Linked DNA regions of Homo sapiens: region 2 is linked to region 1. The links are contacts of gene promoters, found by promoter capture Hi-C in blood cells and fetal thymus (Javierre and others, 2016). All regions are on one chromosome and are shown on one strand. The core of a region is centred on a gene start or on the middle of the fragment in contact, and the rest is flanking DNA. Distances in the headings are between cores, read along the strand shown. Region 1 holds the start of RRM2B (ribonucleotide reductase regulatory TP53 inducible subunit M2B). Region 2 overlaps LOC124901993.

The links. The method cuts DNA at HindIII sites, captures the fragments that hold promoters and counts their contacts. A CHiCAGO score of 5 or more calls a contact.
Region 2: a fragment that was not itself captured here is called in contact with the fragment with the promoter of RRM2B in region 1 in 1 of 17 cell types (M2 macrophages); the score reaches 5.6 in M2 macrophages.

Annotation. Positions count from the first base shown.
Region 1 is chr8:102,234,345-102,240,210 of GRCh38, reverse strand. It overlaps RRM2B (ribonucleotide reductase regulatory TP53 inducible subunit M2B), which reads left to right and starts at 1,250. Exons shown (of 9, transcript NM_015713.5): 1 at 1,250-1,384. The coding sequence starts at 1,337. UBR5-DT (UBR5 divergent transcript) reads right to left here and starts at 760. Exons shown (of 3, transcript NR_125415.1): 1 at 511-760. RefSeq lists a silencer at 827-1,256 and enhancers at 1,327-1,426, 2,730-3,929. The HindIII fragment of the contact is 7,159 bases long and covers 1-2,426 here.
Region 2 is chr8:101,316,441-101,322,930 of GRCh38, reverse strand. It overlaps LOC124901993, which reads right to left. Exons shown (of 6, transcript XM_047422526.1): 4 at 4,770-4,876; 5 at 2,781-2,876; 6 at 1,669-2,176. The coding sequence ends at 2,136. Among named protein-coding and RNA genes, the nearest start is that of LINC02844, 57 kb to the right of the region's middle. The HindIII fragment of the contact is 3,531 bases long and covers 1-3,082 here.

The sequences.
Region 1 (5,866 bases), core at 1-2,500:
GCATTTGACCCCTAGTAGTTGCTTTAAGAAAGACTGTCTACCCCTACGCTATGGCAGGTTTGAGAAAGGGCTTTCAGCATTTTCAACGCTTAAAGTGAGATCTTGATCCTATTTACCATCCTTCAGCCAGCCACAAAACAGGTGCATGCTGTTCAGGTCATGGCAAGATCCCGTCAATCTTTCAGCTTCAAACTACTTAAACAAATCTCTCTTCCATTTTATTTTTGTTAGACCAAACTATTTTTTTCAAAATATATTTTTTTCAAAATATTTGCCTGACTTTAGTAACGTGTCCCTCTCCCCCTCACTCACCCGCATTCACACACACACACACACACTTTCCCCCAGACACTTCCCCTTTTCGGTTGTTTACGCACGAAACCAGCCAGCCCTTTCCCTAGCGAAGTGTTTGGCGGTGTAGCTGTCCCGTCCCCGGCGCTTCCCACAGCAACAGCGCGTTCTCTTCGCCTCCCGCAGTCTCTCAGGACAGGCCAGGCTAGCGCAAAGTACCGTGTTCCTGGAACACCACGAGGGCGAGCTCGGGAATCTCGAGCCGGCCTGCAGGACACCTGCCGCACCAAGTGGCTAGAGCCCGGGGAGGGCGAGGCGAGGTGGGACGAGGCGGGGTGGTGAGCGGGCCGGGAAGGCGAGGCCGCGCGGACTCTGGGATAGCTCCTCAGGAGTGGGCGCCCGGAGTGGGCGAGCGGAGGAGGCGGGGCCGATGAGGTGAGGTGGGGCCAGCTGGAGTAGGCTAAGCAGTCCAGAGCAGGGGGCGTCCCTCAGTGGAAAGCCGGGCGACTGGGCGGTGCAACAGAGTAAGGCGGGGCCAGCGGAAGCAGGGAGATTTCCTTAGGCCGCAGGCGGGGAAATGGGGCTGGCCGGGGTAGGCGGAGCCCCGAGGCAGGGGAGGCGTGGCTGGCAGAGGTAGGCGGTGCCCCAAGGCAGGCGGGGCTTGCCGAGACAGGGATAATCCCTTAGGCCACAGGCTGGGAGGCAGGGCAGGCCGAGGCGGGGAGGATCCCTTAGGCCGCAGTAGGGGAGGCGGGTCGGCCGAGGCGGGGAGAAACCCTTAGGCCGCAGGCGGGGAGGCGGGGCTGGCCGAAGTTAGGCGGAGCCCCGAGGCGGGGGAGGCGGGGCCGGGCCGGCGCAGGGAGAGTCACTCAATGGACAGGCGAGAAAGCAGGACCGGCGCGGCGGGGCGGGGCCGGCCGAGTCCCTAGAGCTGGGGGCGGGGCGGACCCAGCGGACCAGCGGACCACCTGGGTGCTGTCGTAGTTGGAGGTGGCCTGAGGAGCTCAGTTCCCTCAGCGCCCGTAGCTTCGGCGGAGTCTGCGCGATGGGCGACCCGGAAAGGCCGGAAGCGGCCGGGCTGGATCAGGATGAGGTAAATGTTGCTGTTGCGTCTTCCCCCTCACCGCAGTCACGCCAGCCCGTTAGATTGCAAGTTGCAGGACCGCTGTAGGAAATGTTATTCGCCGCGGTCAGGACAGGCCTGTCCGCCCGCCCTCGCCGCAGCCTGGCTTCGTCGTTGCGAGCGCCGGGGAGGCCGTCCCCGGGGAGGGCGGAGGAAGGAGCTGACTTTGGGTTTGCGTCCCGCTCGCTGCTCTGCCCCGGGGCCAGCCAAGGACGACGCTTGGAGGCCTCAGGCCGGGGTGAGACTTACCCCTGCGTTTATCCGCCTCACGCTCTCCCACCCTCCTTCCCTGTTTTGGAGCCCTGGCCAGGGAAACCGAGGCAAGGAAAGAGGACTGTGGCGGCTCTGCTGGAGAGGTGCATACCATTTGGGATGGTGACAAGGAGTTGGAGAACGCGTGTGGAAATTGACACAGGTGGCTGGGGTGAAGATGACAGGTAGAAGGGGACACGAAATCCTCATGACCTCCTCCCAGTGAAAAAATCAGGGTAGGAGGCCAGTTTTGCTCAGGCCCGGCTCCTTAACTAACTGAATCTTCGGGGTGTCACTTTCTTCCTTTATACAATGGAAGTGATACTTCAGAGAGAATTAAGTAAAATGCTTTATGCAAAGTGCCACGAAAATTGTAGGTGCTTAATAAGCCCAAGTTGTTCATCCAAGTTGTTTATGCTGATAAAAGTACCTAAAATAAATAAACCAGAATTTGTTAGACTGTAGGATTGTATGGTAGTTTAAACTGTTGCTGTATAATTTTCAAACACTGTCATTTTGCAAATACTTCTAAGCCCTTTGTGGACAAGAGAAATGCTTTTTGTACTACTGGAACCTGTTGCTGTGGTATCTTTGATTTAATACTGTGAAGATTTGGGGGAAACAAACGTTTCCACCCCAAGAGATTCATGCTTGGCCCTACATTTCTTTAGAAAGTTGTAGATTCCAGGTTTGAGATTTTATTTTATTTAACTTGATTTTTGTAAGCATTTAGTAACTAACTGTAAATATCCCTCAAGCTTTTTCTTCCTGTTTTGAAACAAATGCGTTTAGTACCAACTTCCCTACTCAAAGGGGAAAATTCAGACTGCTGTTTATGCTAATGGCACCAGCAGTGATTCAGGCTTAACACCTGGATATTACATTTTATTTATTACTCCTATCTCAATGATACAGACCCGCAAGGACAGACAGAATTTTAGATTCAGAATGAATTTTAGTGGTCCAAAAGTTTTTAACTTGAGATGCTGGGTTGCCTGAAGCACTTTGTTTTTCTAGATGCCAGAGTGCATAATAGGAGACCTGCATCAGAGTCACTTGGAGTATTTTGTAAAAAATGTAAATTGCTGGACCAACACCCCAAACATAGTGAATCAAAATCTCTTGAGATCTGCATTTTTAACAAGTACTTCAGGTGATCCTGGTACACATATTAAAACAAAAACAAAAAACCCCCCACTGTCTTAAAGGGTCCATAGATAGACTAGAAGGGGCTTTATAAATCTCCTGAAGTGATATGTAGATTTTGTATGTGCAGATGTGAATCTTCTGAGAAAGGGGTCCATAGTTATTGTCAATTTCTCAGAGTTAACTATTGCTAATCTAATTCATAGTCTATTGTCAAGGTAAAGTTTAGGCCAGAAAACATTAAATGGCATGCCCAGGACTCAGTAGAGGAGCTAAATTTAAAACCAAGTTCTTGCACCTGGGCGGGTATCCCATTGGTTCCGTCAGACTTTGTGGGAATAGAAGTGAAAATAATACTTACAAGTAGTGTATGACTATGACAACATACAGCTATTTTACAGAAGTAGAAGAGACATAAAGGCAAAGAAACGGAAGTGGTGGAATTGGGGCTGGATAGGAGGTAAGAGCCTGGTATGATGCCAGCCTAGATTGGGGCATCGTAAGTGCTTGCTGGGAAATCTTGACCTAAATTGTTGTCCTGACATGCCCAGGCATGTCTTCCAACTGGGTGACCAGAAATTGAGTCAGTCGGAAACTGGAAGTACCATTCTGGAAAAAACAGCAGAATGTCACTAAGGAATGCCTACTGCTAAACTTTATTTCAAATTCTCATCACTTTACACCTGTGCGGCTATAATAATTTTGTTGTTTCTCTATCTCCTATCTTACCTGCCATTCAATCCTAATTACCATTGCCAAGTTAATCCTTCATTAGACCAGTGCCTCAGTGTCACTGACCCTGTGTCCCCCAAAAAACTCCCAAAAGAGTCTCAATTCCTACCAAAAAGCCTGGCCAACACCTCAGGCTGGTGAAGTCTTGTTGAAGCTGCTTTTTTCATGCTAACTGCCACATCTTAATTCAAGTCCTCATTTCCATCTTTGAAATTGGTTCCTTAGTTGCTTGCAAAATCTAGTTTTTTATCAATTAATCCTATACGTGGTTTTCTGATTAGTCTTCCTAATGCCACCTCTATTCATGTTAATTCCCATTCAGAAACTCTCCATGACTATTTGTACCCCCAAATCTGTGGGGTACAGATTTTCAAACTGTACCCTGCTATGAACGCCAGCACCTGGGGTTGGGGGCAAATGGGGAGAATTGGAGTATGAGCCTTCTAGACCTCCGATGTTTGAAGATCTTTGGCCACAAAATTGATTCCTAACCTCTTAGTCTGATTTATCTTAAGAGTCTAGATCCTTTGCTTTAGCCAAATCACATCATTCCTACTTTTGCTTTTCCTTGTCCTGCATCCATTTCAGCCTGTTTTAATCTCAGCTGGCTTCTCTTCTTTCATCTGCCCTTTAAATATCAGCATTCTCTAAGACTGTATCCTCAGTTGTCTTGCTGCTCTATATGTTCTCTCTGGATAATCACATCCATTCCCTTGGCAACCACTAATGGGATCTCCATCACTCGTGTTCTGCAGTGTTATATTTTTAACTGCTTACTGGACATCTTGAAACTGAATTCATTATCTTTTCTATTCTTTTTTTTTTGAGACGGAGTCTCACTCTGTCACCAGGCTGGAGTACATACAGTGGCACAATCTCGGCTCACTGCAACCTCTGCCTCTTGGGTTCAAGTGATTCTCCTGCCTCAGCCTCCCGAGTAGTTGGGAGTACAGGCGTACGCCACCACGCCCGGCTAATTTTTGTATTTTTAGTAGAGACGGGGTTTCACCATGTTGGCCAGGATGGTCTCAATCTCTTGACCTTGTGATCCGCCCGCCTCGGCCTCCGAAAGTGCTGGGATTACAGGCGTGAGGCACCACGCCGGGCCTGAATTCATTATCTCTTCTAATGACCTAGTTGACTTTGTGAGGATATTGTGTTTGTAACTTTGTTGTTGTCGCCTGGCTTGGTGGGAGGAGTTAAATTAAACTTCCGTTAAACATCTAATGTGAGAAGCAAAATTTTTGTCTGATTTATTTATTTATTCTCCAGGTACTGAGCACCTTGTGTGTGCCTTTTAGATCTTGTTATCACCCAGTTACTGGAGCTGGAAACATCAAGGGCATCTTTAACTGTTCTTGCCCCTTGTCCCAAATTCAAATTTTTAGGAAGAATAATTCATTCTACTTCTGAATATCACTTAAATCAATTTTTGTGTGTGTTTCTAGTTCAGGCAAGAGATGGGTAGTACAATAATCTTTTCATTGTTCTTTCTGCCTCTAATTTCTCTTCTAATCTAGCAATGTTTCTAGAAAAGCGATCTTAAAAGATATATCTGATTATGTTATTTGCCTTATTAAAAACCTTCAGTGGCTCCCAATAGCATACATCTTAGAGTTATTAGATGCCAAAGTGTTTTATATCAAAGCAGACCACTTTAACCTCCAAAATTTTTTAAAAATCAGATTACTACTAACCAATTTTGCTCTTTTATTAACCCTGTAAAAATATAGATACCCATGAGCTTTGAAATTTCTATGTCTAGTAGGCTGCTCTCTCATGCACCCATATATTTCTTTTTGTTTTGTTTTGTTTTTTGAGATGGAGTCTTGCTCTGTCACCAGGCCTGAGTGCAGTGGCGTGATCTCAGCTCACTGCAATCTCTGCCTTCTGGGTTCAAGTGATTCTCCTGCCTCAGCCTCCCGAGTAGCTGGGACTACAGGTACGCGCCACCACACCCAGCTAATTTTTGTATTTTTAGTAGTGACAGGGTTTCACCATGTTGGCCAGGATGGTCTCGATCTCTTGACCTTATGATCCGCCCGCCTCGGCCTCCCAAAGTGCTGGGATTACAGGCGTGAGCCACCGCGCCCTGCCCATCATATCTTTTTTCACATTTTTTTTTTCTTCTAAAATATGGGTTCTTAGATTAGGTCCACAGAGGGTACTGTGGAGAGCCTAGAGTTTCAAGATGCATGAACTTTCTGAAATTGTATTCAAATGTATGTTTGTGCACGTTTCTAAGCATTATGAAATAATACGTCATCTCTAGCCCAGCTCAAAGGTTGATGTTGGTTAACCTCCTTCTCTTCACATTGCAAA
Region 2 (6,490 bases), core at 68-2,567, 920 kb after region 1:
TCCCGAAGATAGATGAGGTTGAGAGAGTCTGAAGCAGTCCAGGTGTGTCTGATACATCAACAAATGCCAGTGAGTCCTGCATGTGGGCAAGAACTGAGACCAGGACCCAGTCCTGGGACTGAGGCACATAGGGGTCAGGGATGGAGGAGAGTTTGATCACAGGTTAAGAGGCTGCACATTAAAGCAAGGATGTCAAGAGTGTCCAAGAATCTGAGAGGAGGGCAGATCTGGTTCTTAGTCATCTGTCCTCAAGATCCTCATGGCCCTGCAGGTCCAGTCATTAGTCTTCCCTGCTGGTGTCTCTGTGGCATCTGAGTTTTCCATCTGCTCCCTGGTCATCTGTCTTTTCCCACACCCTGCATCCCCCTTATCCTAAGCACAAGGCCCTCTCAGGTTCTCTAGCCCTCTCCCTTGGGCATCTGACACTTCCTTGGGGAATCCCAGAAACTTTTGGATGTTTGTTTGTGCTCTCTTAGGAAATGAGAAATGCAAAGGCCTATGATATGGTTTGGCTCTGTGTCCCCACCCAAATCTCATCTCCAATTGTGATCCCCACGTGTTGAGGGAGAGACCCGGTGGGAGCTGATTGGATCATGGGGGTGGTTTCCCCCATGCTGTTCTTGTGATAGTGAGGGAGTTCTCACGCGATCTGATGGTTTAAAAGTGGCAGTTTTCCTTGCACTCTCTCTCTCCTGCCATCTTGTGAAGAAGGCACTTACTTCCCCTTCACCTTCCACCATGATTGTAAGTTTCCTGAGGCCTCCCCAGCCATGTGGAACTGTGAGTCAATTAAACCTCCTTCCTTCATAAATTACCCAGTCTCAGGTATTCTTTATAGCAGTGTGAGAATGGACTAATATAGCCTATCTCAGACCATTTCCTCCTGGACACATAGGCTGCCATTTCTAGCTTGTCATACCCATACTCTCATAAGAGACTTATCCACAAGACTCTCCTGGGAAGAGAGGTCCAGGTCTGCTCTGCTCCTGCTCCTGAATATTACCAAACCTACTCAGGATTTTTAACATGCATACCCTGACCCTGGGTCTCAACCCAGGAGGACCCTTTGCAGAGTTGTATACGAGTTTCTAACCCCATTACTCTTCTCTCGGACTTATCTCTCTTTTCCAGCAATCATTAGAACTCTTCACGTATTTTATCTCTTGTTTATATTTATAAATATATATGTTTTGCTCTTGAGTTCTTTAGGTATGGTTTCTGAGGCTCAAAGCCTGGTACTTGTAATTTCATATTTTTTTGTCTCCAAGATATGCTCATTACCAAATGTTTTGATAGTTTATTTTAAAACTCAGTTGACACTTTTTTCTTTTCTCAGCACATTTGCTGAGTCTTTTTTCCCATGAGGCAAAACTTCCATTTGGTCTCTTACATTGCCCAGCACTTGCAGTTAGGCAGGGCCACTTGACCAGTTCTGGCCATGAAATATGGGTGAAAATAATGACTGCCACATACCTACATCCATGTACAATTTTATGTGCTTTCTTCTGCTGTGCCTATCAAGGAGGACATGCACTCAAATGATACAGCTACAAGGTGACGGCACCTGCTTTAGCCTGAGTCCTGAGTGACTATATGGCGCAAAGTCCTTCACTGACCCACAATGAACATGTAGCATGAATGAGAAATAAACTATTGTGTGTTTAACCATTGAGATTTTTGCAGCTGTTTATTATTGCAGCACAGTCTGGCCTATCCTGACTAATACCATAGGCTGGAATGCTCTTACACATTGATTGAGGAAGTATCAGGAATATAATGAGATTCTTGAGGGAAAAAGAAAACAAACAAACAAACCTTGGTTGATACTATAAACTATTATCCCATTACAATTTTATAAGTCAAGGATGTTATTCAAAATATTGAATAACCTGTATAGCATGAGTCCAACTAATCAGAACAGTCACAAAAACAAATCAGAAGAGATATCACCCAGTAGAGTATGCAGGGAGGTGTCAGCTGAAGATCCTTGGCATGTTGTCAGAGCAATATGAGCATTAAATATCTTGAATATGGAATAAGTGAATGAGCAATAAGGCTGATTATAAGCTGAGTTCATGGCCTCTGCATCTAAAATTTACTTAAAACAAAGAAGGTGGACTCCAGAGTCTGGAAGGTTAAATGGATGCATTTCCCTGGCTGTTCCTTCTGCTCCAACCTGAAAAAAAAATAAAGCAACTGAATCTCAGCATCTGTATCTGCTTATCTATTTTATGGCCAAATCATTTCTTATCTGTTAACATTTAGCCTGCTCGAAAATGTGGCCATTTATATGTCAACATATTTATTGATATGTTTTCAAGTGTACTTCTAATTGTTCAGAATGTCAAATTCTTTCTGGGAAGCTCAAATAATTGACATATTCCTGCCACTATGGATAATCAATAGTCTAGTGATGCCCTAAGTAACAAACTGAGAGACCGAGAAGACCTCCTGAACCATGAGAGAAAGATTCAAGAATGTTCTGGGTGGTTCTAAGGTTAAGTACACACTGCTGTGGGCTTACTTGGACACGGGCCATTGTTATATGATTGGAATATTTGTCCCCTCCAAAACTCATGTTGAAACTTGAACACAAATGTTTCAGGATTGAGAGGTGATTGGATCATGAGGGCTCTGCCCCAGTGAATGGATAAATCCATCATGGATTAATTGATTAAAGGGTTAATGGATTAATGAATTATCATGGGAGTGGAATGGATGGCTTTATAAGAAGAGGAAGAGAGCCTGGGCTAGTACACAAACGCACTCAGCCCACTTACCATGTGATGCCCTGCCTACCTCAGGATGCTTCAGAGTCCCCACCAGTAAGAAGGCCATCACCAGATGCAGGCCCTCGACCTTGGACTTCTCAGCCTCTGTAAGTGTAAGAAATAAATTTTTTTCTTTATAAATTACCCAGTTTCAGGTATTCTCTTATAAGCAACAGAAAACAGACTAATATAGTGATTACTAATGCCATTTTAGTAATTTTCATCTAGCCAGAAGAAACAATTCACAAAGAATCTCATATCTCAACCATTGAAAGAAATGGAAGTTTTCCATAGTGTGGCCAGTGAAAGCTTACATATTACAAGAGACTATGAACCTGGAAATAACTGAATGGCTGAAATTATGTGCAAAAATTCTGTCTTTGTACTTACATGCTTGGCATATTACACATGCATTTCTAGCTTTATACATGCCCCAAGAATATTTTTAGGAGATGAATAAACCCCAACTTGCAAAGACAATTTCCTTGCAAAGAAAGGACTTTGTCTGACTAATCCAAATGGCAAAATAAAAACAGGAGACAGAAAGATGAGTCTTTAAATCTTAAAAACACTTGAATTGTAGTTAAAAGAAAATCAAAGCCTCAGATGGTAGAGTGTTGATGCATTTAGATGAAAATTAAAATGAAGAATGAAGAAAGCACTAAGTAATCCTCTTCTGGTTGAGTCAAAGGATTTGCTTCCTGAAATTCAAGTGATGATAGAAGGAGGGAGTACATGGTCTAGTGTCTGAGCTTGGGGAGGAGTGTGGCAGGAATGTTGTCCTGACAGCAAGGTTGGAAGGGGAAAAGAAAGCTTGCTTGGCAAGCTTGGTCAAAGCTTGTTTGTTGGGAAATCAATGTAGGCAGGGAAGGAGAAATTTCTGGAACAGAGATTCCTTAACTTGGAGGAGCAACAGCTGCCTCCAAAGATCCAACTGTCCTTTCATTTATTTTAGAAGAGATAAAGAATGACATATATTAAAAACTAAAGAGACTTAGGGTTGAATGAGAAGATCTGCAGTCAGAAAATGCAGATACCAGAATTTTGTAGCTACTTGCAATTTATTTTATAGAAAGCTTTTAAATATTGGGAGCAGCTTATCTTTTTTTTCCAACATGGAGAAGATTAAATGGAGAGGATGGAACTGGAATTTTTTTGCAACTTCTATTTCTCTATTTCAAAGCTGCTAACAAGTCTGTCATAAACACCAGCTGGGCTGCAGCTGGAACAAATTCGGTCTATGGGTCATTCTCGTGAGTATTTGAGCAAGCAACCTTGCCATATGACTTTTCATAAGCATAAAATCTGGAATTGTAAAAGAAACTGAAATCAACATTTATGGAGTGGGTCTAAAGGGCAGGCCCTGCAGACCTGAAGTGTAGGTCACATGTTGCTGCAAAGATTCCTTCCTCTCTACTCCTGGCAACTGTCCCCACTCCTACTCCCATGCCCTATCCTTGCTCTTTTCTCCTGGTCTCTCAAGGTCTCATCCTTCTCTCACTATCTGCCACAGATGTCCAAAGGGACTGAGAAAACTCCACTATTATGAAGAATGAGAGAAGGGAGATTGAGGAATAACTAGCCATCTGCCAATCACATCATGCTCTTGTTAAGTGTCTTGGCATCAGAGAAGGTACTTCATTCTAAATCACTTTTGCATTCCCAGAACCTAGTCTAGTGCTTGGCGCATAGTAGGTGCTTAGTAAATGCCTGCCAAATAAATTACTATCATGTAAGAGAATTGCAGAGCACAGATTTTTAGTGTAAACTTTGTGAGGATAAAAATAAAATGCCTTTTAAATAAGTAAAGCATTGAAGATACTCATTATTTGTATCCTAATCTAGTACTCAAAATGCAGATGACTTCTTATTTCTTTAAAAGAGGGGAAAGCTTTACATTAAAACAACAGACAAGAGGCAGAAAATGAAAAGACTAATAGGCCTAAAGTTAGGCGTAATCCCACCTTCTTGAGTTTTAATTTCAGTCTCCTTACTTACCCAAGAAGGCATCTGTCATCCCTGAAGCCTTAGAAGGAAGTTTATCCTTCCTTAGAACCAGAAAATAATGGGTACAATTGTCTGCTGGTCCCAGGGAAAGGGTGGCACTAATAGGGGAAAGGAGAGAGGGGTGATAAGGTTAATCTTAGACTAGTAATTTTCAGGAACATGGCATCAAAGAAAACACCATTGGTTTCCTAACAAAGAGCTTAAGTCACCTTTAAAGCAATAGTGCAACACCAACATGGAATTCAGTCTCCTCCCAGGAGGTTTTGTAGCTTCCACTAAAAGCAGGTCTTGGAAAGGCTCCCTCCAGAGTTCTGCCAAGCTCTCTCCCTCTGGCTCTTGTGGTGTGCTTTCCTTTGCTCCTCACAGAGCCCCTGGTCCAATGGGAAGCACAGACAATTACAATTCAGAGTGATGGACAGACGACACCCTGGAGTGTGGCCAAGGCATCCAGGGCTCACAGGGATGTTGGTGTGCAGAGTGGCTGGGAGGCTTCACGGAGCAGAGCTTCAGGAGAGATTTAGAGGGCAAGCAAGAGTTATCCAGCCAGGTAATGAGGAAAGGAGGAGACCCAGACCTGAACAAAGACAAAAAGCAGGAGAGAGTATGGCATACCCGGGGAACTCCAGATGGCTCAGTGAGATCTGTGAGGAAGGTGCCACGTGGGGCAAGGGCTAGGCTCACCATGCCAAGGAGTTTGGATCTCATCTGTTAGTGATAGGCAGCCACTGATGGGCTTTAAGAGGAAGAATAACATCATTGGGTTGTGTCAAGAAAACCTTCTGGCAGTCATATGAGGCATAGAAAAGGGAAGATTGGGGACTAGAAAACTAGTGAAATTGTTCAAGGGACACAAAGGAACATCTGGCCAGGGCAGGAGCAGGTAGGATCAGAGTTGGGAGGACAGATCTGGGAGCTTAGAGGAAACCTGGCAGGCTTTAGACAATGATGGTCTCCAAGGGAGTGAGGGAAGCAAAGGAGGCAAGGGTAGCTTTCAGGGCTTCTAATAGGAGCCGTCTGAAGCTTGATGGTGCCATTACACCTTAGAGGAGCAGAACTAGGAACACAGATACTTCAGAAGTGACAAGCCTGGTTTTGTTAGATCAAGTTTGAAGTATCTGTGGGACATCCAGGTAGAGGTGTCCAGTCGGCAATGGGTACTGAGGTCTGTAGCACAGGAGAGACCGGGCTGGTGAGGGACACCTGACACCTCTCTGAGTTCAGGTTCTCAGGAGTAAGGCCCCAAGTTGAGGATTCATGTACAAGTGGTTTATCACAGAAGTCCTCCTGGAGGAGACCAGTGAAGGAGTGAGGAGCACGGAAGGGAAATGGAGGGAGCTCAGTGTATTGGTTTCCAAGAGCTGCCATGACAAAGTAGCACAAATTGGATGGCTTACACAACAGAATCATATTGTTGAAAGTCCAAGACGAAGGTGTCAGCAGGGTTGGTTCCTTCTGAGGGCTGTGAAGGAGAATTTGCACCCTGTCCCTCTCCTGGCTGCTGGTGGCTGCTGGCAGACTTCAGTATTCCCCAGCTGGCAGATGCATCACTCCAATCTCTGTCTTCGTCTTCACACAGTGTCCTCTCTGTGTATGTGTCTGTGTCCAAATGTCTTCTTTTGATAAAGACTCTAGCCCTATTGGATTAGAGACCCATCTACTCCAGTATGACCTCATCTTAATTTAAGTAATTATATTTGCAACAACCCTATTTC